6 separate regions of the Homo sapiens genome follow, and regions 1, 2, 3, 5 and 6 are each linked to region 4. Evidence: promoter capture Hi-C in 16 types of primary human blood cells and fetal thymus (Javierre and others, 2016). All regions are on one chromosome and are shown on one strand. Each heading gives the region's core, a stretch centred on a gene start or on the middle of the fragment in contact. The rest is flanking DNA. Distances are from core to core; before and after follow the strand shown.

Evidence for each region. Contacts are between HindIII fragments. The CHiCAGO score rates a contact against its expected background, and 5 or more counts as called.
Region 1: a contact is called between a fragment that was not itself captured here and the fragment with the promoter of UBL3 in region 4, in 1 of 17 cell types (naive CD4 T cells). The highest score is 5.6, in naive CD4 T cells.
Region 2: a contact is called between a fragment that was not itself captured here and the fragment with the promoter of UBL3 in region 4, in 2 of 17 cell types (fetal thymus and naive CD4 T cells). The highest score is 6.5, in fetal thymus.
Region 3: a contact is called between a fragment that was not itself captured here and the fragment with the promoter of UBL3 in region 4, in 2 of 17 cell types (naive CD4 T cells and fetal thymus). The highest score is 5.4, in naive CD4 T cells.
Region 5: a contact is called between a fragment that was not itself captured here and the fragment with the promoter of UBL3 in region 4, in 3 of 17 cell types (fetal thymus, total CD4 T cells and naive CD4 T cells). The highest score is 6.0, in fetal thymus.
Region 6: a fragment that was not itself captured here is called in contact with the fragment with the promoter of UBL3 in region 4 in 1 of 17 cell types (naive CD4 T cells); the score reaches 5.7 in naive CD4 T cells.

The regions. Positions count from the first base shown.
Region 1 is chr13:30,392,487-30,397,159 of GRCh38, forward strand. No RefSeq gene overlaps it. Among named protein-coding and RNA genes, the nearest start is that of LINC00426, 21 kb to the left of the region's middle. The HindIII fragment of the contact is 1,470 bases long and covers 1,712-3,181 here.
Region 2 is chr13:30,470,240-30,475,026 of GRCh38, forward strand. It overlaps a transcript of HMGB1 not described here. Among named protein-coding and RNA genes, the nearest start is that of HMGB1, 6.7 kb to the left of the region's middle. The HindIII fragment of the contact is 9,123 bases long and covers 1-4,787 here.
Region 3 is chr13:30,371,725-30,376,532 of GRCh38, forward strand. It overlaps LINC00426 (long intergenic non-protein coding RNA 426), which reads right to left and starts at 2,190. Exons shown (of 5, transcript NR_024464.2): 1 at 2,059-2,190; 2 at 561-650. The HindIII fragment of the contact is 2,047 bases long and covers 760-2,806 here.
Region 4 is chr13:29,847,203-29,852,081 of GRCh38, forward strand. It overlaps UBL3 (ubiquitin like 3), which reads right to left and starts at 3,415. Exons shown (of 5, transcript NM_007106.4): 1 at 2,310-3,415. The coding sequence starts at 2,336. RefSeq lists enhancers at 1,981-2,050, 2,521-2,590, 3,261-3,330 and silencers at 2,891-3,190, 3,461-3,570. The HindIII fragment of the contact is 5,102 bases long and covers 649-4,879 here.
Region 5 is chr13:30,452,498-30,456,866 of GRCh38, forward strand. HMGB1 (high mobility group box 1) reads right to left here. Exons shown (of 5, transcript NM_002128.7): 5 at 4,207-4,369. Among named protein-coding and RNA genes, the nearest start is that of HMGB1, 11 kb to the right of the region's middle. The HindIII fragment of the contact is 2,316 bases long and covers 879-3,194 here.
Region 6 is chr13:30,553,099-30,557,677 of GRCh38, forward strand. It overlaps a transcript of HMGB1 not described here and the pseudogene PTPN2P2. Among named protein-coding and RNA genes, the nearest start is that of USPL1, 63 kb to the right of the region's middle. The HindIII fragment of the contact is 2,771 bases long and covers 1-2,701 here.

The sequences.
Region 1 (4,673 bases), core at 1,197-3,696, 540 kb after region 4:
GGCTTCACTCGCTTATTATTTTAGCAGGCAATGAGATCATGGTCTGCAAGAACAGAGCTAAAGAGCTGGGAGCTATAACCACATACTGCTGCAAATAAAGTCAGCTCCAGTATGGAAAGGAACACAAGGCATGGGCTGCATTTGATTCACCCAAGGTTCAAGGTCAGAGTTGTGCCATGAAGGCACCAGTGGAGTTGGGGGGAGGCAGACACACCTGGTTTTGAACTCCAGCTTTGAAATACTTCCACCATGTGTAGGCAGAAAACAATTTCTCTGAGACTTCATTTCCCATCTGTAGAGCAGGAGAAATAATAAGAGTCACTATGCAGGGCTGTCCTGAGAAGCAAAGGGTGTGATACGTGTAATCCAGCGCTTGGATAGGGGGCTGTGCACAAAATTAGTCTGGAACAAGAGCCAAGTCGTCCCTCCTGCTCCCCTCCTCCCTTTCCTTGCACATGGTTTTCCCGGGTGCCTGGCTGACAGAGGAACTGTTCCTGGGGCTGAGTCCTGCGATCCCAATAGAGGCTTTTTATTAAGTAGAATTTACACTGACAACCTATTCCATACGATATGTCCAGAGAGCAAGCTCACCTTAAACAAGCATATTCAACTTTTCTAGAGCCCAGAAAATCACTTTTTGAAATACTTATTATGAACCTGGGGTCCCTAGAAGAAGATTTACCATGAAGTTAATGAAAATGAAACTTCAGGCTTCTCACTTCACCCGTCCCGCAGGGAGGCTCAAGCCAGGGCCCCAGCAGCCTATGCATATGGTCACTCACTGTTATAAACTCTGCAATGGTAAGATGTTTAGTTGCTTCAGATCACTGCCTCTTTCCACCTTGACTTCCATTTGGCCACATTTCCTCTCCTTTTGGGTGGCTTTGGAATGGCCATGGGCATTTTGGGGACCTAGCAAAAGAACCCAAGTTAGAGCTACCTTTAGTTTTGGGTTGATTATGATATACTGATACAGTCAATTTCTTTCTTTCTTTTGAGACAGGGTATCGCTCTATCACCGGACTGAAGTGCAGTGGTGTGATCAGGGCTCACTGCAGCCTAGACCTCCTGGGGGCAAGCAATCCTCCTGTCTCAGTCTCCCAAGTAGCTGGGACTATAGGCACATACCACCACACCCAATTAATTTTTGGATTTTTTTTGTAGAGACTGGGTTTGGCCATGTTGCCCAGGCTGGTCTCAAACTCCTGGGTTCAATCAATCTGCCCAACTCAGTCTCTCAAAGTGCTGGGATTACAGGTACGAGCCACTGCTCCTGGTTGATGCAGTCACTTTCGTATAGCCAAGCTACTGCTTAGAAAAGGTTTCTGGGGATATTCCTACGTTCCGACTTAGCTGGCATGGAGTCGTAAAGGCTCAGACTCAAGCATCATATCATGATATGTGCATGTCCCCAGAGCAAGGGGGGGAAACAAGATGTGAAATAGGGTCCTACAAGAGTCTGGGGCAAAGCTTTCCAATCATCAAACTTGTACAATTGTAGGTACACTTAAACGGATCACTGGTCAAGATGAAAGTTCTCACCTTTCAGGAACATAAGAGGCCATCAATGAATATCTGCCCCAAAATGTGGGATAGAAAGGATTTTAGAGATATGTTAGTCAGTTAATTATATGTTTTTCTAAATTTAGTGATACTTTAATACCTAATTTTGTATGTTTGAATTTATATTCTCTTCCTTCCAAATTACATAAGCTTCAGGACCTACGAAACCTAGATTCACCCCTTTGGCTCACATGCTCTTATTTTAGCTTTTTTTTTTTTTTTTTGAGACGGGGTCCCACTCTGTCACCCAGGCTAGAGTGCAGTGGCGCAATCTCAGCTCACTGCAACCTCTGCCACCCGGGTTTGAGCAATTATCTTGCCTCAGCCTCCCGAGTAGCTAGGATTACAGGCACACACCACCATGCCCAGATAATTTTTTTTGTATTTTTAGTAGAGATGGGGCTTCACCATGTTGGCCAGGCTGGTCTCGAACTCCTGATCTCAGCCTCCTAAAGTGCTGAGATTACAGGCGTATTTTAGCTTTTTGAAGAGGGTAGGATGGAGAAAAAGATGAAGAGGGAGAAAACCAAACTTCCTAACTAAATTTTGTGAAATAATTATATTTCAGTGACACAGTGAAATTCTTTGTATGGTTGTTCTTTCTGAAAAGAGCGAAATGAAATAGGATTGAGAATCCTGACTATACCAATAGATTTTCTTTTAAGGCTGCGTCTGTTCTGCAGTGTTTGGGTAAAGCACTTTCTGTGCATTGTGAAATAAAACACGCCTAGATTGTTAAAAAAAAAAAAAAAAGGCTGTCAATTTTCCGTTAAAGCCTTTTATCTGTACTTTACCCCTTCCCTCCAGCAGATTCTAAACTCTTCATTCACACCCACTATTGTCACTTCCACACTAAATTAAACAAACTCAGTTCGATCACTGCAGTTTTTGGAAGCACAAAGTAACACTATACAAGTTAGAGAAAGTGAAAGAACTTCTTTCTAAATTCAAACGGCTGAACAAGGAAACATTCAGGTAGGCAGAGTCCTTGCAGTTTCTGTTCTTACCACAGAAAAACTTAAAGAAGCCACATTCTGGATGTTGTTTTTCATGTTAACAAAAAGTCCAGACGGACCCCATAGCTCACAGTGCTTCTTCTCACCCCTCGCCCCTCCCCAAACTCCATCGACCCAGAAGCATTAATTTCATAAGGAAGAGAAAACTTGGCTTTCTACTAAATTCAGCTCTGAATTCAGCCCTCCATTTCCCAAGGGCTAGGACCCAGAGCCAAGTCAGCCCGCCCCTCCCTCTCGCTCCCAGACCTGAGCTGCGGATGCTGCAGCCCAGCACTCCTCCAGGTTTGGAAAAGGCGGCTACGCTGGGCAAGTTTGGAAAGTTCTGGGAGAAGAGCGAAAGGAGGGAGTGTGTGTTGGCTCTTTTCCTTTCCTTGGAAAGCACTTAACAAGAATGACACCCTACCCCCACATCAAATGCCTTCTCTTGCAGTCCTGGTTGTTTTATAAAAACTGAGTTCGTGTCTTTAATGCCAGGATTTTCTTCCTGGTAGTAAGCATTGGCTAATGATTGCCAGTCGGCTTCTGCGTCTGTGTGCCATGTGACCTGGACACGTGACTTGGAGCCGGCTGTGGTTGTTACTTGTATTTGAATAAGAAGATCAAGCTTATTATTGCAGTAAAAGCCTGTGGGACTTGTCTGTGCAACGTGATTCCCCAGGCGGGTTACACAACGCACCGTACAGCCTCGTCTTCCAGAGGCTCCAGTTGTTTCGTAAGGTAAAACAAACACGATTTTATATTTTCCAAAGTGAAAGTCCATTTTCCCCCTGGAAAGTGTCTGATGATCCTGGAAAAAGATGAAGCCTAGTTTCTCCAAACCCTGTTAGTCCCCTTGGTACAGTAAGGTAGAACTACTGCCCAGCACACAATTAGAGAAAAAAAAACAAATCCAGTCTCCTTTTCAAATAAAGATTTAGGATTGACGTTAGAGAAAAAAACATCCAGTCTCCTTTTCAAATAAAGATTTAGGATTGATGTTAGAGAAAAAAACAGATCCAGTCTCCTTTTCAAATAAAGATTTAGGATTGATGTTAGAGAAAAAAACAGATCCAGTCTCCTTTTCAAATAAAGATTTAGGATTGATGTTAGAGAAAAAAACAGATCCAGTCTCCTTTTCAAATAAAGATTTAGGATTGACGTTACCTTTTACTATTTCCCCTTCTCCCTTCCTAAAAAGTCTTCAAGATATGCTCTTATCTACCTATAAAGAATTTACACTAAAAATGACGTTTTTAAATTTAAAATTTAAATGGCACGTTCATTTTGCGATTTTTTTCCCTTAGATTTCTACAACATTAATAGTTAAATTTTTATTGTCCACATACCCTGTAAAAGAGACATCAGAAGGATTCATCTTTTTGTAGGTGAGAAGAGCTGGATGTTCCCTTCAGGTTAGGATGTATGCGTGCATATATATATGCAAATATATGCAGATTTACCCCAGGAGGGCTTTTCCACGACCAAGAAGGTGACATCTTTACCATGCATGTTTTAATACTTTCCCCACCCCAATGCTGAAGAAGCCCTGCTATAATTTGCTTTCTTCTGCCTCTAAGGGTGATGACTCAACTACAGAGGCAAGATCAGGGAGGAACAATAGCTTTGGTTATCTCTAATGAGCGATCCAATAACCATCAAACCAGTGAGTTCTCTCAGCCCAAGGCTGGCGCCTCTGTGTGGAACCGCAAAGGGCACTTTTCTTTCTTTCTTTTTTTTTTTTTTTTAACTTTTATTTTAGGTTCAGGGGTACATGTGCAGGTTTGTTACACCGGCAAACTCATGTCACAGGGGTTTGTTGTACAGATTATTTCGTCATGCAGGTACTAAGCCTAGGACCAATTAAACATTAACTCTCCATTTTCCATTCCCCTACCCGCTGGTAACCACCATTCTGCTGTTGTCTCTAGACACTCATATAACTAGAGTCACATAGTATTTGTCCTTATGTGACTGACTTATTTCACTTAACATAATGTCTTAAAGATTCATCCATGTTGAAGCATATGTCAGAATATCCTTCCTTTTTTAAGGCTGGATAATATTCCATTGTATGTATACCACATTTTATCTATTCATCCATCCATGGACACTCGG
Region 2 (4,787 bases), core at 472-2,971, 620 kb after region 4:
GCATTAAATAAAGCCCGTTGCATAAATGAATTAATAGCTGAAGGAGTACGTATTGCAAATTATTGTTTTAACCTTCCTCTTCTATCTTTAGATCTAAAAGCATTTAGGTCTTTCTAAATCAAAAGGCAGGAAAATAGAATAAGAAGCGAATGTTAGGATACTAAGATTGAGGATAGGTGCCAATTACATCTCATTGACGTAACTTAAAAAGGGAGAGGCACAGTTGGAGGGTGAGAGGGGATCTCAAATGTAGAGAAACACATATAGTCTAAGCATTTACCAGTTTCCAATTAGGCCAAGATTATTCCTTGGTGGATACAGTGAACTATGGCAAGCCAAATTAGACTTTATCACAGAAAACTGCAAGATTGTCTGCCCAAAGATTGTTACCAATTGGCTTTTTATTGTTTTATTTTATTTTTTTTTTGAGACGGAGTCTCACTCAGTCGTCCAGGTTGGAGGGCGGTGGCGCGATCTTGGCTCACTGCAACCTCTGCCTCCTGGGTTCAAGTGATTCTCCTGCCTCAGCCTCCCAAGTAGCTAGGATCACAGGCGTGTGCCACCATGCCCAACTAATTTTTGTATTTTTAGTAGAGACGGGGTTTCACCATGTTGGCCAGGCTGGTCTTGAACCCCTGACCTTAGGTGATCCACCCGCCTCAGCCTTCCAAAGTGCTGGGATTACAGGTGTGAGCCACCATGCCCAGACTTATTTATTTATTTATTTATTTATATTTAATTAATTAATTAATTTTTTGAGACAGAGGCTTGCTCTATTGCCCAGGTTGGAGTGCAGTGGTGTGGTCTCAGCTCACTGCGACCTCCACCTCCCAGGTTCAAGCAGTTCTTCTGCCTCAGACTCCTGAGTAGCTGGGACTACAGGCACGCGCCATGGCTAATTTTTGTATTTTTAGTAGAGACAGGGTTTCATTATATTGGACAGGCCGGTCTTGAACTCCTGACCTCGTGATCCACCTGCCTTGGCCTCCCAAAGTGCTGGAATTACAGGTGTGAGCCAGCGCGCCTGGCCTATTTTATTTTATCTTTAATTTAATGTTTGTCTCCCATGTTCAACCAAACCAATGGTTGGTTTTTTTGTTTTTTTGTTTTTTGTTTTTTGTTTTTGAGACGGGGTTTCACTCTTGTTGCCTATGCTGGAGTGCAGTGGCGCGATCTCGGCTCACTGCAACCTCTGTCTCCCAGGTTCAAGTGATTCTCCTGCCTCAGCCTCCCAAGTAGCAGAGATTATAGGCATGGGCCACCACACCTGGCTAATTTTTTTTTTTTGTATTTTTAGTAGAGACGGGATTTCACCATGTTAGCCAGGCTGGTCTCGAACTCCTAACATCAGGTGATCCACCCGCCTCCGCCTCCCAAAGTGCTGGGATTACAGGCATGAGCCACCGTGCCCGGCCTTTTTTTTTTTTTTTTTTTTTTTTTTTTTTTGAGATGGAGTTTCACTCTTGTTGCCCAGGCTGGAGTGCAGTGGCACCATCTCGGCTCACTGCAACGTCCACCTCCCGGGTTCAAGCGATTCTCCTGCCTCAGCCTCCAGAGTAGCTGGGATTACAGGCACGCACCACCACGCCTGGCTAATTTTTTGTAATTTTAGTAGAGATGGGGTTTCACCATGGCCAGGCTGGTCTTGAACTCCTGACCTCAGGTGATCCGCCCGCCTAAGGCCTCCCAGAGTGCTGGGATTACAGGCGTGAGCCACCGCGGCTGGCCACCAATGGGCTTTTAAAACTTAAAAGGTGACCAGGTGTGGTGGCTTATGCCTGTAATCCCACTACTTTGGGAGGCAGAAGTGGGTGGATCACTTGAGGCCAGGAGTTCAAGACCAGCCTGGCCAACACGGCAAAACCCTGTCTCTACTAAAAAGACCAAAATGAGTCCGGGTGTGATGGCGCATGCCTGTAGTCCCAGCTACCTGGGAGGCTGAAGCACGAGAATCACTTGAACCCAGGGGGCGGAAGTTGCAGTGAATGGAGACTACACCAGAGTGCCACAGAGTGAGACTCTGTCTCAAAACAAAGATACAAATAAAAAACTCTGACGTAAAAAAAATACGACATGCAAGGCCAGGCACAGTGGCTCACACTGGTAATCCCAGCACTTTGGGAGGCCGAGGCAGGCGGATAACTTAAGGTCAGGGGTTTGAGACCAGCCTGGCCAACATGTTGAAACCGCATCTCTACTAAAAATACAAAACTTAGCCAGGCATGGTGGCGCACACCTGTACTCCCAGCTACTCCGGAGGCTGAGGCATGAGAATCGCTTGAACCTGGGAGACAGAGGTTGCAGTGAGCTGAGATGGTGCCACTGCACTCCAGCCTGGGCTACAGAGAAAGACTCCATTTCAAAACAAAACAAAACAATACAGAAAACAACAACAACAACAAAAATGCAGACTGGGAGCTGTAAGTTTTTCATTGGTTGAAAATATTGATCTCTCCCAATGCAATGAGTCCTAAAGTCAAGCTATATGAATTCTCTTGTCTGCTTTGCAAAACAGGCCAGTTTCGGAAAAGGAGAGGAAACGCTAACCCAAAATGTCTGATGAGGTCAACCATATAACCATACAACCATACTAAGGATCACACATACTGAAAACTTTTTTTTTTTTTTTTAGGGCAGTGAAAATAAAGGAATGAGGCATTTAGGAAAAGAAGAGAGCACAGGTTTGTGAACTCCAGACTAGAAGCAAGGATACTGACATCCAATCCCCTCAATTCACTATGCACGGACCTCTCATAGTCACCGAGGTCTATGCTCAGTTTCCTCAACATTTCCTTAGGGCTGTCACTACCTTAGTCTAACTTGAAAGGATGTTTCATGACTAAATGGAGAGGCAAGAAGAAAGACCAGAGGCGAAAGAGAGGGAGATGGTGCTATATGTGTTCATGTATGGAGAAGGAGAACCTCTTCCCCAGCTGCTTAAGTACCTCCTGCCTCAGCCCGAGTTTTCCGGGGGGAAATCAGCAGCTTCTCCGTGGGCAGCATTGATGATAGCCATCAATGCTATGGCACAGAAAATTGTACCAAAGCTAATTTATATCAATAAGTTCTCTAGAATTGGATGATTTTACTGGTTAGTAAGGGGAAAATATCAGACCTTTCCTTAAGAGGCCTGTCCTCTGGTTAGTCAAAGAATGGTACACATGACGAGTGGAAAACGCAATAGTAAAAGTTCTTACAGAAAGGTGATCTAAGTTCAGAAAAGATCCCTATATTAGGTCTTGATCTCAATAATCACATCAAACATCAAATTCAGCTGCTCTATTAAAACTGCCTTACACCTTCAGAATAAATGCTTATCACACACCCACGCAGATGGCTATAATCAAGGAGATAGACAGTAGCAAGCATGGGTGAGCATGTGGAGAAAGAAACTGGAACCCTTATGCACACTTGTGGAAATGTAAACGGGCAGGTGTTTTGGAAAACAAGCTGACAGTTCCTCAAAAGGTTAAACACAGATAGATAGCAGTTGACCCAGCAATTCCACTCCTAGGTATATACCCAAAAGAAACAAAAACATGTCCACACACACTTGTACATGAATCTTCATAGCAGCAGCATTTGTAACAGTCAAAAAGTGGAAAACACCCAAATGCCCATCAACTGATGAGTGGATAAATCGAATGTGGTATATCCATACACATACATATATATTTGACATTATGCTAAGTGAAAGAGCCCAGACATAAGAAGGCCACATATTGTATGATTCCATTTATATAAAATATCCAGAACAGGAAATATTATAGACAGGGAAGTAGATTAGTGGCTGCCAGGGTTTGGGGAAAAAGAGAGTGCCTGCTAATGGGTATGGAGTTTCTTTTAGGGGTACAAAAATGTTGCAGATTAGATTATAGTAATGGCAGCATGACCTGGTAAATATGCCCAAAACCATTGAATTGTACACTGTAAGTGGGTAAATTACATGGTGTATGAATCATATTTTGATAAAGCTATTTTTTAAAAAGCAATAAATGTCTTACGAGTGGTTTTGGTTAACTAAAGACAGGAACAATGGAACACTCCCTCGCCAACTTTGCCTATTTCTTTCCTGCTGTTCATGGTGTTTAACACCTTGTGAAAAAGATGGTCCTCTTCATTAGGTAGAATTTTCATCTATTATTGGAGTTACATATTCTGTGCTTAAAGTATATTTTTGCTGCAAAATATTATAGTAATTTTAAACAAGCGCTTTTATAGGGATACCGTGGGAGGCTTTTCTGGAGAGCCGGGGGTGACCGTAATGAGTATGCCCAGCCATGAAGGGTTAGGACTGACAGCGTAAACTGGCCCCTCTCTGGCCTTATCTGACCCACAGACGTTTCATTCGGTCAAAGCGGTGTTTTAAAAAGGTAGACATTGGGCAGGTATGGTGGCTCACACTTGTAATCTTAGCACTTTGGGAGGCCGAGGCAGAAGAGGAGTTCAAGGATGCAGTAAGCAGTGATTGAACCACTGCACTCCAGCCTGGGCGACAGAGCGAGATGGTCTCTCTCTCCTTTTTTTTTTTTTTTTTTTTTGAGATGGTTTCGCTCTATCGCCTAAGCTGGAGTGCAATGGTGCAACCTTGGCACTCTCTCTCTCTCTTTTTTTGTTTTTTTTTTTTTGAGACAGGGTCTTGCTCTTTCGCCTAGGCTGGAGTGCAATGGTGCAACCTTGGCTCACTCTCTTTCTCTTTTTTTTTTCTTTTCTTTTTTTGTTTTTTTTTTTTTTTTTTTTTTGAGACAGGGTCTCCCTTAGGCTGGAGTGCAGTGATGCGACCTCAG
Region 3 (4,808 bases), core at 533-3,032, 520 kb after region 4:
CAGCTGCAAAAGGTCGTCTGGCAGGAAGCATGTTGGTCTCCTGGCAGTTTCTTGGGCCATGTGACATAACCGCCAGGTTATACTTCTGCAATTACAGTCCCCAGGGACCTGCCGCATGAAACAGACATTGGTTGTGATCCTGTAAAAAGCCGCAAGCAGTGGCTCTTTCAGTACAAGGAAACCCTTGGGACAGAAAAGTTTACTTTTGCTCAGGCTTTATGGTGACAGCCAGCGTGATCAACAGGAATGCTGCAGTTGGGTGACGCATGAGGCTCAGGAGCCTTTGCGCTTGACTTTGAAAGATTATAAATACACCAGGCTCGCCAAGCATAGCCAGTCAGTTACAAATTACGAGTCATCTTTCGGTTGTTGCTGAACTTCCTTTACACCTCTTGTTTTGAACACAGTGAGCAAACAACGTCTAATCTTTTGGCTGTGGAGTTCCAAGTACACCACAAGGCATCGGGACACACCTTTACCCCAGCTGCTTTGTGTGGTTGCAGGTTAACCAGACATGCAGCTAGGAGTTCACCTAAAACCTTCCTTTCCCCGGTACATACCTTGGTGTTGATTTGACAGCTGGATGCTGAGTATTGATCCCAGTGTTCAGGGATAGTTACTTCATTAAGACTTCTGAGATCCCCCATTTGCTTGAAGATAAAAACAGGCAAAGGTATAAACAGATAAACAGTCACACAAATAAGTAGCTGTGTGGGCCATTACTTTTAAAGCATAGTAGATGTTATTTGTGTTTGGAGAAGCTTAATGATACACTCAAGAATCCAATAGTAGAAACTGTTTGCTTTCAGGAAGAAAACGTTATATCAGGAAGGTATGTTTGAAGAAAAGAACTATATAACAGCGATCCACAATACACCTGTTCATTTGTAGCATAATAGTTACACCTGCTCCCTGGGGCTTTTTTGAGATTTCAGTCTTTGGTGTAAGACACACATACACACATGTGCACACACAATGGTAAGCATGCATGCTCTTCAGCTTCAACCCTCAGTGCGCAGTAAAATAAAAAATATAGTTGAATCATCTGTCTCAGCCCCAGCTAGAGCCCACGTCTTCCAACATGAATTTTAAAATACCTTTTTGCCTTTTAAAATATGCTGTAGAGGCCGGGCGCGGTGGCTCACGCCTGTAATCCCAGCACTTTGGGAGGTCAAGGCAGGCAGATCACGAGGTCAGGAGATGGAGACCATCCTGGCTAACAAGGTGAAACCCCGTCTCTACTAAAAATACAAAAAAGATTAGCTGGGCGTGGTGGCAGGTGCCTGTTGTCCCAGCTACTCAGGAGGCTGAGGCAGGAGAATGGCGTGAACCCGGGAGGCGGAGCTTGCAGTGAGCCGAGATCGCGCCACTGCACTCCAGCCGGGGCAACAGAGCGAGATTCCATCTCAAAAAAAAAAAAAATGCTGTAGATGAGTTTTAGTTTATCCGGGTCCTTTGTAATTAATCTCTGCATTCATCATAATTGGAAGAAAAGCTCAAAGTAAGAAAATAGCTTTCCTCCAAGTTTATTGCAATCAGAGAAAAATACAATTTAAATGTTTTTGTTTCCCATTTCTGTTCCTTACATGCATTGTCTAGAGTGGTTCCTGGTCTATAAGCCAGTGGGTTGAGATACCTGACCAGACCACCTTTTCAACCCAGTTCTTTCTCCTCTTTGTATTTCTCCCATACAATACAGTATTGAATATTTCATAACCTATGGGTGTATGTTTTTGGCAATGTGGCTAAGTCAGGCAGCATTGAGGACTGTCCTGGTGACAGTCCGGTGCAGCCCTCACCCAGGCTCCCACATTCACACCCCTCCACTCTCCAGTGGGCTGTGTAAGTTAACGGCAAATAAATGGCCCAGAATGGCTTCCTGTTAGAGAAAAAAAGGGACAAAGACTTCTGCCCTTAAAACTCTGGTAACAAAAGTAATCTAGTGGAAATCAACATTACTAGGAATATCCTATGATTTTGGTGGTGTTGAGTTCAAAGACAGCATGGCCGAATTGTGACCATCCACCCAGTCACATGAGGCAAAAACCCAGGCCCTACCTGTGTCCTGACCTCCAGCTTCCTCCCCACGGCCAGTTGGTTAGAACGTGTAGGGAGTGTACCTCTCCCAGCCGTGGAATCCCCTCACCATCTTCACCCCTTCCCCACCTTCAAAGACTTTCATGGCCGAGTGTGGTCTGACCACACTTGATCCAAAGCCCTTCCTCTGAGCTCTCAGCTCCACGTCACAACCTCGTGACCACGTGCCTCTCACTGTCATGTGCTTAGATATGTGTGTGTGTGTCCACCTCACCACACACTGTGAGATCCTTGAGGGCACGTTGTCTCTTTCATTTCTGTGTCTCCAGTGCCTAAAATGGAAAGTGCTCACTTACTAAATAAATATACAATATAAAAAATAATTTTTATCCCTTGTCCCATTTGAGATGGAAAATGAGTAAAGTTTACAAGTATTAATATAGTCAGCATCCCACTAAGACCACACAGACACTGAGATGAGCAGAGGATGCTGAGGAGCAAATGCAAAATAAACTATGAGAACTGTGACAGCTTCCAGTGCTCTTCATTATAAATATCAGCAATTGCTAATATCCAATAACATGTCACACACTCTACATTAAATCATCACAAGTCTCTAAGGCAGGTGTTAGTTTTCTCTTTGTACAGCCCAAGAAGCTGAGACAAGAGTCACACAACCAGCCAATAGAGAGAAAAGATTCAAACCCGGAGACCTTCTGTCTCTAATCCCACCCTCCTCCCACTGTCTCCTGCTGCCTCTCTGTTTCAAAGCTTGGCTCTGAGACTATGAGCACTGCCAAAATTTTACAACAGTTTGCGTATGTCATGGTCTGCAAAAGCTGTGGATGGCACTGTGGTGGCAGCCTCAATAGAAGGCTGAGACTACTTACCAGAGGGAGGATTTCCTGAGCTCCGATCACACCTGCTCTTTGTTCTCTCTCTGTCTGTCTCTCTGTGTGTGTCTCTCTCTCTCTCTCTCTCTCTCTCTCTCTCTCTCTCTCTCTCTCTCAATACAGACAGGGTCTCACTCTATTGCTCATGCTGGAGTGCAGTGGCGTGATCATAGCTCACTGCAGCCTCAAAGTCCTGGGCTCAAGTGATCCTCCTGCTTCAGTCTCCTGAGTAGCTGGGACTACAGGCATGCACCACCAGGCCTGGCTAATTTATTTATTTTTATTTTAATTTTGTAGAGACAAGGTCTCGTCCCTTCCCCAGACTGATCTCGAACCCCTGGGCTCAGGAGATCCTCCCACCTCGGCCTCCCAAAGTGCTGGGATTACAGATGTGAGCCACCACTCCTGGCCCACACCTACTCTTTATCCTCAACCCACACCCCCAGGCTCAAACTCAAAAGGAAGGAGCAAACCCTAGAAGCTGCGTAAAACACACCTTGACCTAAAATGTGCTCATGACCAGGCAACTTGACTACATATTCTCCTCGACCTACGGTGGAGTGACATCCCTATAAAAGCCATTGTAAATTGAAAATATTGAAAGTCTAAAATGCTTTGAATACACCTAACCTATCGAATATCAGAGCTCAGCCTCGCCTCCCTTAAACGTGCTCAGAACACTTACATTAGCTTACAGTGGGCAACATAATGTAACACAGGCCTATCTATGTTATAATACAGTGTTGAGTATCTCATGTGATTTATTGAATACTGTACTGAATGTGAAACAGAATGGTTGTCCGGGTACTCACCATTAGCTGACACAGCTGAACGCACACTGCGCCTGAAGAGCGTTTGAAGCATTGAACTAAAATTAATTGCTGGGTGATGGGGATGCTACAACGACAGGGTCATCAATTTCTCTCTCTTCTGCTGAGGCTGGAGAACCACGGGTAGAAGGCGCTGGAGCATCAACGCTTGATGGTTTGGCAGGCGTAGTGCTCTTCCTTCAGGAAGGCATCAGGTGTCCGTGGTTTACCCTTCTGATGGCAGGGCTGCCTGGGTGCTTTGGCTCACAGCCATGCCCAGCATCAGGAGAGTGTCATACAGCATATCCCTTGCCTGTGGGATAAAGGCCAGTCTTCAGAATCCGAAGTGCACTTTTTGTTTTTTTTTTTTGAGACGGAGTCTCACTCTGTTGCCCAGGCTGGAGTGCAGTGGCATGATCTTGGCTCACTGCAACCTCCACCTCCCAGGTTCAAGCGATTCTCCTGCCTCAGCCTCCTGAGTAGCTGGGACTACATGCGTGTGCCACCATGCCTGGCTAATTTTTGTATTTGTAGTAGAGACGGGGTTTCACTGTGTTAGCCAGGATGGTCTCAATCTCCTGACCTCATGATCCACCCTTCTCGGCCTCCCAAAGTGCTGGGATTGCAGGCGTGAGCCACCGCGCCCAGCCCTGAAGTGCACTTTCTGCTAAATGCCTGTCACTGTCATACCATCCTAAAGTTTAAGCTGGAACTCTCTATGCTTGCACCTGTTGCCTGAAGGGTGTATTAGAAATAATAGTTTCCTCCAACCCCTCCCCACCTCATTTGTGGAAGAATCTCATGTCTCCCTCCTAGAAATGGATTCAGCCTGAGATTCTCAAGACCAAGGTGGCATCCCAGGGTTCCAGGCTCTGGAGACAAGGATGTGGAGGGAAGGGGGTTAGGGGGAGGTCACTCTGGGAAAACACATGTAACCTAGATCCCCAGTGAGCTAAGTGAGACTGACTCCTAGATGGAAATAGCCCCAGCGGACTTGTCACTGCAAGAATTCTGGTCTCCCTGGATACCTAGCATGCTCAAGAGCCCACTTGAAACACTGAAACACTTC
Region 4 (4,879 bases), core at 2,165-4,664:
TCACAAAGAGAAAATCTTAACCTCTAACCAGTTGAACAGTAGAAAACAAGACATAAAAAAATACTCAGAACAATCAAACCTGTGCTGTACGTTAGTACCCACTCTGAAATAGCATCATCAGGGCATTATATATTTATTACATAATATTGCTTTGCCCTTGCATATCACCTTTAATCAAAGGATCTCAAAGCACCACAGAATCAAGGCCTTAACATCCAGTCTCAAACAGATAAACTGTTATATTTTATAATTGCAGATATTAATAAAACCCTGCTCCTACTTCCCAGTCCTCTGATCCTAACATCAGCCTCCAAACCCTCTCTCTGACTTGGAAACAGTATTTCCCAAATCATCTCAATCTGTGACTGATGCCACGCACATTCCAGCTTTTCTTCACTGGACCTAAAGGAAGTAGCGGCACTGTTTTAATAACACATCTATTTCATTCCAACGTCTGTGAGAGAATAGACGGTACTTAAGGTTAACCTATTTTGCACTGTGCTTGATGATATAAAATGGAGGCTTTCGAGAGAGCAAATCTTTGCTCGAGGCGATGAACCCACAGATCACTCATCAAACAAGGGAAATAGCATTTCCCAGCTCTGTCTAGAGACCGCTCCCGGCAACTTCAAGAGCAGTATGGAGGAAAGCTTGTCCAGCCGTACTTAACCAGGCAGGAGGCTATTTCATGTGTGCACACCAGAAGAGAAGCGAAAACTAAAAGGACAACGCACGAGTTTTAGGACTCAGGAAGGAGACTGTAAAGCTGTTATGTGGCCACCCCCAGAGACAGAACACTGTGTTTCCTTTGCATTCAATGGGAAATTAAACAAGAGCAAAATTCCTTTAAACCAAGGTCAAAATAAGCCATTTAGAATCATTTAATTTTTGTTATAAAATCTGTATATGAGGTTTGCTCCTCTAGAAACATCTGGCGTTTTAAAATTTAATCATCAGCAGGCTGGGCGCAGTGGCTCACGCCTGTAATCCCAGCACTTTGGGAGGCCAAGATGGGTGGATCATCTGAGGTCAGGAGTTTGAGACCAGCCTGGCCAACATGGTGAAACCCTGTCTCCACAAAAAAAAAAAAAAAAAAAAAAAAAAATTAGCCAGGTGTGGTGGTGGGCACCTGTAATCCCAGTTACTTGGGAGGCTGAGGCAGGAGAATCGCTTGAACCCAGGAGGCAGAGGTTGCAGTGAGCCGAGATCGCGCCATTGCACTCCAGCCTGGGCAACAAGAGCAAAACTCCGTCTCAAAAAATAAAAATTAAATTAAAATTAAATTAAAATTAAAAAATAAAATAAAATTTAATCATCAGCAAAGTTCAATTTGTTTCCACTGAATACACAAACACTCAAATGTTAACATATGTGAGCACAACTACGTTAACTTCAATTCTTTCATAAACAGGATTATTCCTCTTCCTGGTAATTAAATGCATTATGTTTGTCCTTAGGACTGCAAAATGTAACTTCACACTCACACAAGCCCAGCCCCAGCACTGTAAGGTTACACGGTTACTGTTAGTCAACCGACTCACAACCTTACCCTTTATAAACAAAACAAAGAAAGGCGTCAATAAACAACAGTACTTTTTGTTTCAAGTTCTCAACACTCAGTGATCGAGGCTCAATACTATGTTTCCTTAGCTTTATGTCTAATATGGAATCTACTATTAATAAATATCTGGCATTAAAAAGCCCTGGAATATTCATTGTAAGTACCAATACAGGGTCAGCCTACGTTTCTGAAAATCCCAAAATATCTTTATATTTCTGTTGCCATCCGTATTCAGACATTTCAAAAACCTCACAGCAAATTCTAACATACTTTTTCTTGAAGAGATGTGCATCCCTGTTCTTGAAAAATATCAAGTTCGTCCCTACTGCAATGACGATCTCGTCTGTGTCATAAAGCAAGATTCCCGTTTCCCTACCTATTCTCTCGTAGGGACACCCGTCCTCAGCTCTGCCCACTGTCCCTGACGTTTTCAGAAACGTTAAAATACTAGTGTTCGGAGGCTTCTAGCGAAGAGGGAGATGTTTTGTCCCCTCAAGCTACCATGATACATTTCCCTACTTCTCCACTATCTTCAATGCTTTAGAAAACACGACCAAATGAGAGAACCCATATTAAAAGCAGTACTTCCTAAAAGGGGGAAACCAGAAGCTCCAACTTCTCCAAATCGCTCAGCACAGTGGCTTTTCGACAGTCCCCAGCAAATCTTCGCCCCACGCCTGCCGTCTTTCCGATTAAATAAGATTGGAAACCACAATTAAATCAGTGTCATAACTTATCCGTCACTTACCATATCCGCCGGGACATTACTGGACATCTTGCCGTTTGATATACACCCAGATGTTTACGAAAAAAACAAACAAAGAAAAAAGAGCAGAAGTCTTCACGTTACAGAAATAAACCACGATTTTGACTGGTTCGTGATGTGCTTTCTCCCCCAAAAATAAAGTTATTTTGGAGCCAAAGTGCCGGTCAGGCCGAGGTTCTGGTTCGAAGAGGAACAATCCCCAGGAGCTGTGTGGCCGGAGCAGGAGGAAACTCCCGGGACAGCAGAGGCAGCCCCCGTCGTCGTCGTCGTCGTCAACAGCAGCAGCAGCCCCAGGACCGGCCGCGCCAGGTGGACCGAGCCGAGTGACACACGGACATGGAGAGGGGTGGGAGGGGGTTAAATGCGCCTTCCTCCTTTCCCAGCCCCGGCAATGATTCACACTTGCTCCCGAGTCAAGTCCTCATTAAGCAGGAGAAAAATGCCCCAGCGTGGATGTACACAGATAACTATGTAGCTACACATCGACGCGTGAGCCTTGAGTGGCGGCCGAGCGGTGGCCGGACGCTGGCCGCGGACCCTGCAGAGCCGCTGTCGGAGCGCCCGCGCGGACAGCGCGGGGAAACGGCTCAACTCGCGCCGCGGGGGCGAAGAGCCGGGCCGCGGAAACCCGCGCTCAAGGGCATTTAACTAGTTGGAAGCCAAAGCGAAAGACCGGAGCGGGGGACCGACAGCGCGGGGGTGCTCGGGGCCGGCCGGGACACTCCACAGCCCCTCTGGGCTCAGGCCGCGGGCGCCTCCGGACAGCAGCTGGGGTCGGGGCGCATCGTCTCCGGCTCCTCGCCACTCCTCTTCTGCCTCCGCCTTCCCCGCCGCCGCCTCCCCGGTCTCCGCCTTCCCTTCCCCTCCCCTCCCCGGCCTCGCGAGCTCCGGGCGACGCCGACTTCGGCTGGTCCCCGGAAGAGGCCGGGTCCTCCTTCTCCTCAGCCCGGGAATGGTTTCCTCTCAGAGCTTTGTTTCTCCTCCTCCTCCTTCACTTTTCAGTCCCACACGCCGCGGCCGCCTCCTGTCATCGCCTCTCAAACCAACATGGCGGCAGCGGCGGCGGCGGCGGCTGCCTGAGTGCGACTAAGGGAAACGGGGAGAGCACGGGCCCCCCCTCGCAGCAGCCGCCGCCCCCGTCCTCGTCCTCCCTCCGCGGACACCAAGTGCGTCACCACGGAGACCATTCCCTCGAGCATCACGGGAAGTGTAGTCTACGAGGGTGGGGGGGGGAGGGAGCCGCCGAACGCCTCCTCACCCAGCTCCGAAGCCACGCCCCCCATAGCAACAGTTGCGAGGAAAGGAAAGCTCCCTTTCCCTTGCTTTGGACAAGCTGCTGCCCAGGAGTTAAGTGATACCTGCTACCAGGAGTGCTGTGATCATGAGAATTGTTGGGAGAAAATAATTCTGCATAGAGAAATTCCCTTATGCACGATATGCACACAGAGCTAAAATATGCTGTACCTCCAAGCAGAATCATTCATTTTAATTACAGCACATTCTCCACATCCTGCAATCTCAATGCATTTTGTAGAGTGATTTCATCTAGGTCTCCTCAACATTACATTTTGAAGAACAAAAGCAATCATTGATTTCCAATAAGGTCACATAAGTTCAACAGGAACAAGGATCTCATTAAGCAGTGAGAATATTTGAACATGTGTTTCCTTGAAGACCCAGGGCAATAAAGCTACAATCTACTTAACTGAAATTACCAAAACTGTATTACATACAACAGTGTTATTATATCAAATCTGTATCAGGAAATAGCTACTACAAACTTCATGGGGATTCACCAGTTTACCCATCTGGACCCTAAATTCTATTCTATGTAACTCATAATGTAATTGAAAACCTATATGCCTTGCAGTGATTAGCAAATAGGAGAAAATAATGCCATTGTTGAGACACCATTCAGATGGACATTTGTGATTTCTGCATTTTGTTCCTAAATCTGAGGTCAACATCTGAATCCCTATTCATATCTCTTAGTCCTTTGACAGAGTACTTTAGAAAGGGCAGTCTCAATATGATGCCTATATATAAATGCCAATGAATTTAGAGTCTGAAAGCCACCTCTCCAACCTACAGCTGTGTGACCTCATCTGTAAAATGGTCTTGCCTACCTTCCGGGGTAAAGTAGGGGTAGTTATGAGGATGAGTTCATGCATGGGAAATAAATCACTTTGTAAATAATAATGCATCATTTGATATGAAATGTCACTACTCATTCTCTCATTCAGCAAACAAATGTGCCAGGCACTCTGCTAGGCACTAGGAGTTTAAAAATGAGTCACTGTAGCGAACAGCAGCATCATGTGGCAGAAATGCCAAGGTCTTGGGTTGGCAATGGGGGTTATTACATCCTTGTCTATAGGGCTGTTGAAAAGAGGCAGAATCCAGTCACTGTCCTCAGGGAGCTCATTGTCTAGAAGCCTACGTGATTCCCCACAGCAATCTCTCCAGTTGGGTTTCTCATCAGTTGGAAACCCACAGGACATTTAGAGTACCTGCCTCTTGAGTAGCCTGGGTGGAGAAATTCCAAACACTCC
Region 5 (4,369 bases), core at 787-3,286, 600 kb after region 4:
TTTATAAAATCTTAGAAACCATGACCCTATTTTGTATCCCTTCTATGTAAAATTGTCTGAATAGCCTTTTAAAAAGTTGTTACATTTGGGTGAAAACTTTCCAAAGGTAGCTTGGTAAAATTCACCAAATTTGGCTCATCTTTTGATTCAGTGATTTCCCTTTGAGGAATATATTTATATCCTAAGAAAATAATTATGGGCAAAGGTGTGAGCATAAAGAAAGGATAGTCATGTTAACCTTATATGTAACAGTAAAAAATCATAAACTAAATGTCTAATAATATGGAATTGATTGAATAATTTATGGTATTTTACATTCAGGCACTTAAAATAATGCCCAGCAGAATAAGAATATATGATGACATAGACTTTTTTAATATTTATATTTATTTATTTATTTATTTTGAGATGGAGTTTTACTCTTGTTGCCCAGACTAGAGTGCAATGGTGCGACCTCGGCTCACAGCAACCTCCGACTCCTGGGTTCAAGCAATTCTCCTGCCTCAGGCTCCCAAGTAGCTGGGATTACAAGCACCCACCACCATGCCCAGTTTATTTTTGTATTTTAGTAGAGACGGGGTTTCACCATGTTGGCCAGGCTGGTCTCGAACTCCTGACCTCAGGTGATCCACCCGCTTCAGCCTCCCAAAGTGCTGGGATTACAGGTGTGAGCCACCGCATCCGGCCGACTTTTTAAATTTTTTTAAAGACAGGATCTCACTCTGTTGCCCACGCTGAAGTGTAGTGGCACCATCTCAGTTCACTGCAACCTCCGCCTCCCAGGTTCAAGCGATTCTTGTGCTTCAGTCACCTGAGTAGCTGGCACTATAGGCGCATGCCACCATACCTGGCTAATTTTTGTATTTATAGTAAAGACAAGCTTTCACCATGTTGGCCAGGCTGGTCTCAAACTCCTGGCCTGAAGTGATGCGCCTGCCTTGGCCTCCCAAAGTACTGGGATTATAGGTGTGTGCCACTGTGCCCAGCTGACATAGACTTTTGTTCAAGATAGACTGTGAAGTAGAAAAAGCAGCTTACAAATGCAGTATTTTTAAATTATTAACATTTTTTAAAACATATATATGTATGTATATCTATATGCACACAACACTACAAAAAGACAACTCAATTTAAATATGGGTGAAGAACTTGAATTAGTTCTCCAAAGCATACAAATGGCCAATAAACACATGAAAAGACACTCAGTATCATCAGTCATTAGGGAGACACAAATCAAATCACAATGCGATTCCACTTCACACCTACTAGGATGGCTATAATTTTAAAAAATAGAAAATAGGAAGTGCTGGCAAGGTTGTAGAGAAATTGAAACCCTCATACATCATTGGTGGGAATGTGAAGTGGTGCAGCTGCTGTGGAGAACAGTTTGGCAGTTCCTTAAAAAGCTAGTCATAAAATTACCATATGACCCGACAATTCCACTCCTAGATATATACCCAAAGTATTGAAAACAAGAACTCAAACAAATACATGTACACGCACATTCATAGCAGCATTATTCACAATAGCCACAAGGTGGAAACAGCCTAAGACCTTATCACTGGATGAATGAATAAGGAATTATGGTATATACACACAATAGAATATTATTCAGCCTTAAAAACGAATGAATGGGCTGGGAGCGATGGCTCAGGCTTGTAATCCCAGCACTTTGGAAGGCCGAGGCAGGCGGATCACGAGGTCAGGAGATCGAGACCACAGTGAAACCCCGTCTCTACTAAAAATACAAGAAATTAGCTGGGCGCAGTGGCGGGCACCTGTAGTCCCAGCTACTCGGGAGACTGAGGCAGGAGAATGGCGTGAACCCGGATGGCGGAACTTGCAGTGAGCCGAGATCGCGCCACTGCACTCCAGCCTGGGTGACAGAGCGAGACTCCGTCTCAAAAAAAAAAAAAAAAAAAAGGTTAATTTTATGTTATATGAGTCTCACCTCAATTTTTAAAATCTATCTATATCTATATATCTATATATATTACATGTTATATATAGAAACTGGAAGGGCACATAATATGGTAATAGTCTTGCTGACTGGTAGAATTACAGGTTTTTGTTTTCTTATTTATTTTGTTTCAATAATGTAAGTTTCATTCATAATAAGGGCAACCGATTTTTCAAAAGTTATTGTCGTGTGTAGCATATTGCATCTTGCTTCTACTTCCAGAAGATCAGGCTACAGTCCTAAGCAGCATCTATTATATTAGTGATTACCAGCCCTTTAGAATCAGATAGCCTATAACTTTCTACATGACTGGGAGTATTTTTGTTTGGTTTGGTTTGGTTCAGTTCAGAAATGTTCTGTCCAAGTAAATCAAAGGAGAAAGCCAGAGAAGAACCTCAGTGATGGCAGAATGTACTGGCTATCCTAGCATAGCAAAAATTGTAGCCAAAGCAGAAGAACCCAGGCCTGGAAGTGAGGGGCAATGAGGAAGTTTTCCAGCCTTTTTGTTGCTGTCCTTAAGGGAAGGGGAAAGAGCTCACATCTTTTTTGCACCTACTGTGAGCCTGGTGCTGCTAGAGTGTTTTGATACTGCCATTTGTCCTTGAGCAAGCCTCTGAATCCCTATGGGCCTCTGTCCACTACTCTGTAAAAATGCACAGATTAGACTACGGTAGCCCTTAGACCCCCTTCGCCTGTAATGTGCTAGGACCTTACACTAGTGCTATGCCTTATTCTGTCCCTCCCTGAAAACAGGCTCTCTGGTCAGCCTCTCTGCTTCTGAGCCTAAGTGTGCCTAGCCCCATTCCCTGTGCCCAAGCCCCAGCCAGGCTGATTCCAGGTGGCAGAGCAAGGCCTGGGGAAATGGGGCTTGGGGTGTAGGGGTGGGGGAGCTGCAATATCTTTGCTTTGAGTAGCCTCCAAGTTCTTACTCTTCATCTCTTCCAGGGATTACAGTGGCACCTGAGGCTGTGGCAACTGAGCATCTTGTTTTTCTTTATCTTTAGGAGCACTCTCTCACACTCAACAGATCCTTATTTTATTTTAGGGTTTTTTATTCTCTTACTTGGTTATGTTCAGATCACTTTATAAAATAAGCTCTAATTGAAACCCAATAAACAAAACCAGGGTACAGTCAACACCTGTGAAAAGGAGAAAAAAACCCAAAAAGCAAAAGCTAACAAACAAAATACGGTAAAGCCTCTAATGAGAGATTCTATGTAACGCTAAGGAACTAAGCTTAATTTCACTTTTTTTTTTTTTTTTTTTGAGTTGGAGTCTCGCTGTCACCCAGGCTGGAGTGCAGTGGCGCGATCTCGGCTCACTGCAAGCTCCGCCTACCAGGTTCACACCATTCTCCTGCCTCAGCCTCCCAAGTAGCTGGGACTACAGGCGCCCGCCACCACGCCCGGAAAATTTGTTTGTATTTTTAGTAGAGAGGGGGTTTCACCGTATTAGCTAGGATGGTCTCAATCTCCTGACCTCATGATCCGCCCGCCTCAGCCTCCCAAAGTGCTGGGATTACAGGCGTGAGCCACTGCGCCCGGCCAGCTTAATTTCACTTTGAGCATATAAATACAATTTCATTTATAAGCACATTTGGAGTATGTCCTTTGCCATAAAGTATCATCTCCAGCAAGGAACTGGTGAACTTTATTCCATTTAAGGCAAATCCTCAGAATCCATTCTGCCTTTCCAAACACTTGTCTCCTAAAGGCTAGTATCTGGGCCACACATTTCTCCTTTTGCTACACCTTATTGAACAACTTGCATTTCCAAAACTGTTGGCTGCAGCTTCTGTAAGATTGACATAGAATCTCTGCTAGAAAAGACCCTCCCCAGAATAAAACAAACCAACCAAAAAACTACCACATACTTCCATTTAGGACAGAGTATATCAAAATGAGAAAGAACCTCCTCATTTTCACACAGTGGATTACTTATTTAGTTACTGCAGTAACTTTAGAGAAATAGTTTAGCAGTTTAGGCCAGGAACTGTGGTTCTCACGCCTGTAATCTCAGCAACAAGGCCGAGGAGGGAGGGAGGATAGTTTGAGGCCAGGAGTTTGAGAAATAGTTTAGCAGTTTAAATAAAGCAGTGGCTTGTCCTAAGAGTCTTTCAGTTGATTCTCTCTGTGTTTCTTATTCTGGTCAGGTAGCTCTGGACAAATGACAGTATTTCAGTATTTTAATTTCTCGTTTTTAAAAATAGAGTTATACAGCCAAAGAAAAACCAGTAAAAATCTTGATTAATTGCAAAATCATTGTTAAAATGTTTCACAGCATAAATAACAGCTTTTGTGGGCGGGGGGGGGGGGTGGTGGGGTGCAATTTATCAACATCTTCCAAAATGTTAAATGCAAATGTCTTTTGACTCAGCAGTTCTACTTTTGAGGTATCTGAAGACCCACA
Region 6 (4,579 bases), core at 66-2,565, 700 kb after region 4:
CCAATTCTGAGATGCATGTTAAAAGGTTCCTCAGAAGCTCCCACAGGATCAAGTAGCAGATATTCATAATGGTTGCCAATTTGAAAGGGACCCTTGGGTTGGCTTTCTCTCCTTCCGGGGGGTCATTCTTCTGTCTTATCACAGTCTATTCCTTGGTGTCACATTCCCAAATAAACTCCCTACCTACCTCCAAGTTGTTTGTACAGGCTTTGCTTTCGGGAGAGCCCAGACTAAGACAATGTGGTAACGTAAAAGACTGGTGGCTTGGGAGCCAGACAGACCTGACTTTGAAACCAAGTTTGCTCATTCACTAGCCATGACCTTGGGCACATAATTTAACTTCTCTCAGCCTCACTCTCTTCACTTTATAATGAAGATAATACTTTATAGGAGTATGGTAATGACTTCATAGGGGTATGGTAATTAGAAATTTACCAAATATATATATGAATAGAATATATACAACTTCCTTGAGTAATGATTGACTATAATAAACCACATTGAGTGTCTGTCCAGCTTAGGAGCCAACCTCACTCTTCCATTTCTCTTAAGATTCACTATTTGTCCCAGCCATGCCCACCATCATTGAGCGGGAGTTCAAGGAGTTGGATGCTCAGCATCGCTGGCAGCTGCCGTACTTGGAAATTCGAAATGAGTCCCATGACTATCTTCATAGAGTGGCCAAGTTTCCAGAAAACAGAAATCGAAATAGATACAGAGATGTAAGCCCATATGATCACAGTCGTGTTAAACTGCAGAATACTGAGAATGATTATATTAATGCCAGCTTAGTTGACATAGAAGAGGCACGAAGGAGTTACATCTTAACACCGGGTCCACTTCCTAACATGTGCTGCCATTTCTGGCTTACGGTTTGGCAGCAGAAGACCAAAGCAGTTGTTGTGCTGAACCGCATTGTGGAGAAAGAATCGGTTAAATGTGCGCAGTACTGGCCAACAGATGACCAAAAGATGCTGTTTAAAGAAACGGGATTCAATGTGAAGCTCTTTCAGAAGATGTGAAGTCATATTACACAGTACATCTACTACGATTAGAAAATATCAATAGTGGTGAAACCAGAACAATATCTCACTTGCATTATACGACCTGGCCAGATTTTGGAGTCCCTGAATCACCAGCTTCATTTCTCAATTTCTTGTTGAAAGTGAGAGAATCTGGCTCCTTGAACCCTGACCATGGGCCTGCAGTGATCCATTGTAGCGAAGGCACTGGGTGCACGGGCACCTTCTCTCTGGTAGACGCTTGTCTTGTTTTGATGGGAAAAGGAGATTATATTAACATTAAACAAGTGTTATTGAACATGAGAAAATACTGAATGGGTCTTATTCAGACCCCAGATCAACTGAGATTCTCATACATGGCTATAATAGAAGGAGCAAAATGTATAAAGGTAGATTCTAGTATACAGAAACGGTGGAAAGAATTTTCTAAGGAAAACTTAGCTCCTGCTTTTGATCATTCACCGAACAAAATAATGACTGAAAAATACAATGGGAACAGAATTGGTCTAGAAGAAGAAAAACTGACAGGTGACCGATGTACAGTAAATGCAAGATACAATGGAAGAGAACAGTGAGAATGCTCTACGGAAACATATTCTAGAGGACAGAAAGGCCACCACAGCTCAGAAGGTGCAGCAGATGAAACAGAGGCTAAATGAGAACGAACAAAAAAGAAAAAGGCCAAGATAGACACCTAATATTCATGACTTGAGAATATTCTGGAGCTATAAATTTTGAACCACTGATGTGCAAAACAAGACCTGAAGCCCACTCCAGAAACTAAAGTGAGGCTTGCTAACCTTCTAGATTGCCTCACAGTTGTTTGTTTACAAAGTAAACTTTACATACAGGGTATGAGGAGCACCCACCAGCAGAAGACTTTGCAGAACCTTACATTGGATGTGTCGTTGTGTTTTTTTTTTTTTTTTTTTTTTTTTGAGACGGAGTCTCTGCTCTGTTGCCCAGGCTGGAGTACAGTGGCGCGATCTCGGCTCACTGCAAGCTCCGCCTCCTGGGTTCACGCCATTCTCCTGCCTCAGCCTCCGGAGTAGCTGGGAATACAGGCGCCCGCCACCAAGCCTGGCTAATTTTTTGTATTTTTAGTAGAGATGGGGTTTCACCGTGTTCGCCAGGATGGTCTCGATCTCCTGACCTCGTGATCCGCCCGCCTCGGCCTCCCAAAATGCTGGGATTACAGGCGTGAGCCACCGCATTGGCCTGTTAAGTGTTTTTAATGGGTGTATGAAACGTAGAAATATGTAAAAGAAATAAATTAGGAGAGATTAATTTGTGTTGTACTGCCATTCCTACTGTATTTTTATACTTTTTGGCAGCATTAAATATTTTTGTTAAAGAGTCAAAAAAATTTACTACTTGTCCCATCAGTTTCCTGGGATGGGTTCATGTACTCACAATTTTACTAGATTTTGTGACTATTAGCAACCACAATTCTAGCTACTGCATTGACTATTACACTAATATACAGAATAAACAATGCCTATAATTATTTTTAAAAAGAATCATCCTAAATTTACAAAAAGACAAACCGCATTTCCATAATATATTGTCTAAATTTCAGGAAGAAATTCTCAACCTTTGAATGACAGATTTAAGAAAACTAGTTTAGATATCAATATCTCATTGGAATATGTTGTTTTGTTTATACCTCAGGTTTTCAAAGCTTTGGGACCTCAAAAGTAGTCCTTATTTAAAAACTGCTACTCGTAACCATAGTCTCCATCGTCAAAAAGGAATGTATAAGGATTATTATGCTTGAAATATTAATCTGTATGGGTCTTACAAGATACTCCAGGTTGCTTATATGCTTAGTGGGAAATGAGAATTATTCAAAAGAAAAATTCTATTTTCCCAATGGGAGAAGTGTCCAAAAGTTTCAAAGATGTCAGAAAAATCAGCTTTTGGAAGCTGCTGCCACAATTGTCAATAAGCAGGAGATACCAGTATGTCTTCAAAGAGAGAATTCATTGAAACAAGTCATTGAGGCTGGGCGTGGTGGCTCACGCCTGTAATCCCAACACTTTGGGAGGCCAAGATGGGCAGATCACCTGAGACTGGGAGTTTGAGACCAGCCTGACCAACACAGTGAAACCTTGTCTCTACTAAAAACACAAAAATTAGCCAGGTGTGGTGGTGAGCAACTGTAATCCCAGCTACTCGAGAGCTGAGGCAGGAGAATTGCTTGAGCCCGAGAGGTGGAGGTTGCAGTGAGCCGAGATCCTGCCACTGCACTCTAGCCTGGGCAACAAGAGAGAAACTCTGTTTCAAAAAAGAAAACAAAACAAGTCATTGATAGTATAACGAAGAGATATCTGCATCCCATGTCTACTGCAGCACTATTCTCAATAGCCAAGATATGGAGTCAACCTAGGTGTCCAACAACAGATGAATGAATGAAGAAAATGTGATATATACACACTATGGAGTATTATTCAGCCATAAAAAAGAGTGAAATCCCATCGTTGATGGAATATAGATGAAACTGGAGGACATTATTTTAAGTGAAAAAAGCCAGGAACAGAAAGTTAAACAGTGCATGTTCTCACTCATATGCGAAAGCTAAAAAAAGTTGATCTCATAGAAGTAAAAAGTAGGACAGAGGATACTAGAGGCTGGGACGAGAGTGACAGAGAGATTTGTTAAAAGATACAAAATTATAGCGAGATAAGAGAAATAAGTTCTAGTGTTCGACAGCACTGTAGAATGACTATAGTTAATAATAATACAATATATAGTTTCAAATAGCTGGAAGGATATTGCACATTCTCAACATAAAGAAATGATAAACATATGAGATGGTGGATGTGCGAATTACCCTGATCTGATAACTATAAATTATATGTATGGAAATATAATTATGTGCTCTCAAGAATATGTACAATTGGTATTTGTCAATTTAAAAAATAAATCTAAAAACTGTATCATTGAATCCTTAAGATGCTAAAGTTCATTTACTTATATAACAAATTAAAAAATTATTTCTTATGCTGTTTTTCAAAAATCATAGCTTTTATGACTTTACATAAATATATCTAAAATAATAATTGTATGATATGTTTTTGTAGTCTAATAAAATTTGCACTGAATTCCAATTTTTTAAGGGTATCTTTTTCCATGTTTTCATCTTTATTTTTATATGGGAAGTTCTAACTGAAATAAGGTGCTCCTCAGTTCTAGGAGTTAACCCTAAAAGTAATCAATGTGATCCTCCTCAACGCGAGTTCCAGAGCTAAAAAGAATGCCTAGTCTATGTTCCTTTGCGTTTTTGTTTTATTTTATTTAAATGTCTGTCTACCTGGTCCCCTTGATTAGGGAGCAAGCCTCCAAGGGTCAAAACCATGTTTCATGTCTCTGCGGCCCAGTGCCTAGCACAGAGCTCTGTCCATATCTGCACTCCAATAAATGTTGACCTAAGACTCTTACACTTACAGATTCACCTTGTAGATAAAAGGGCTTTGGAAGTCATCTAACCCATTCCCTTAACTCTCTATCCTACTTCACCAACAACCAGCTTTTGCAAGACACTTCCAGGGGAAGAG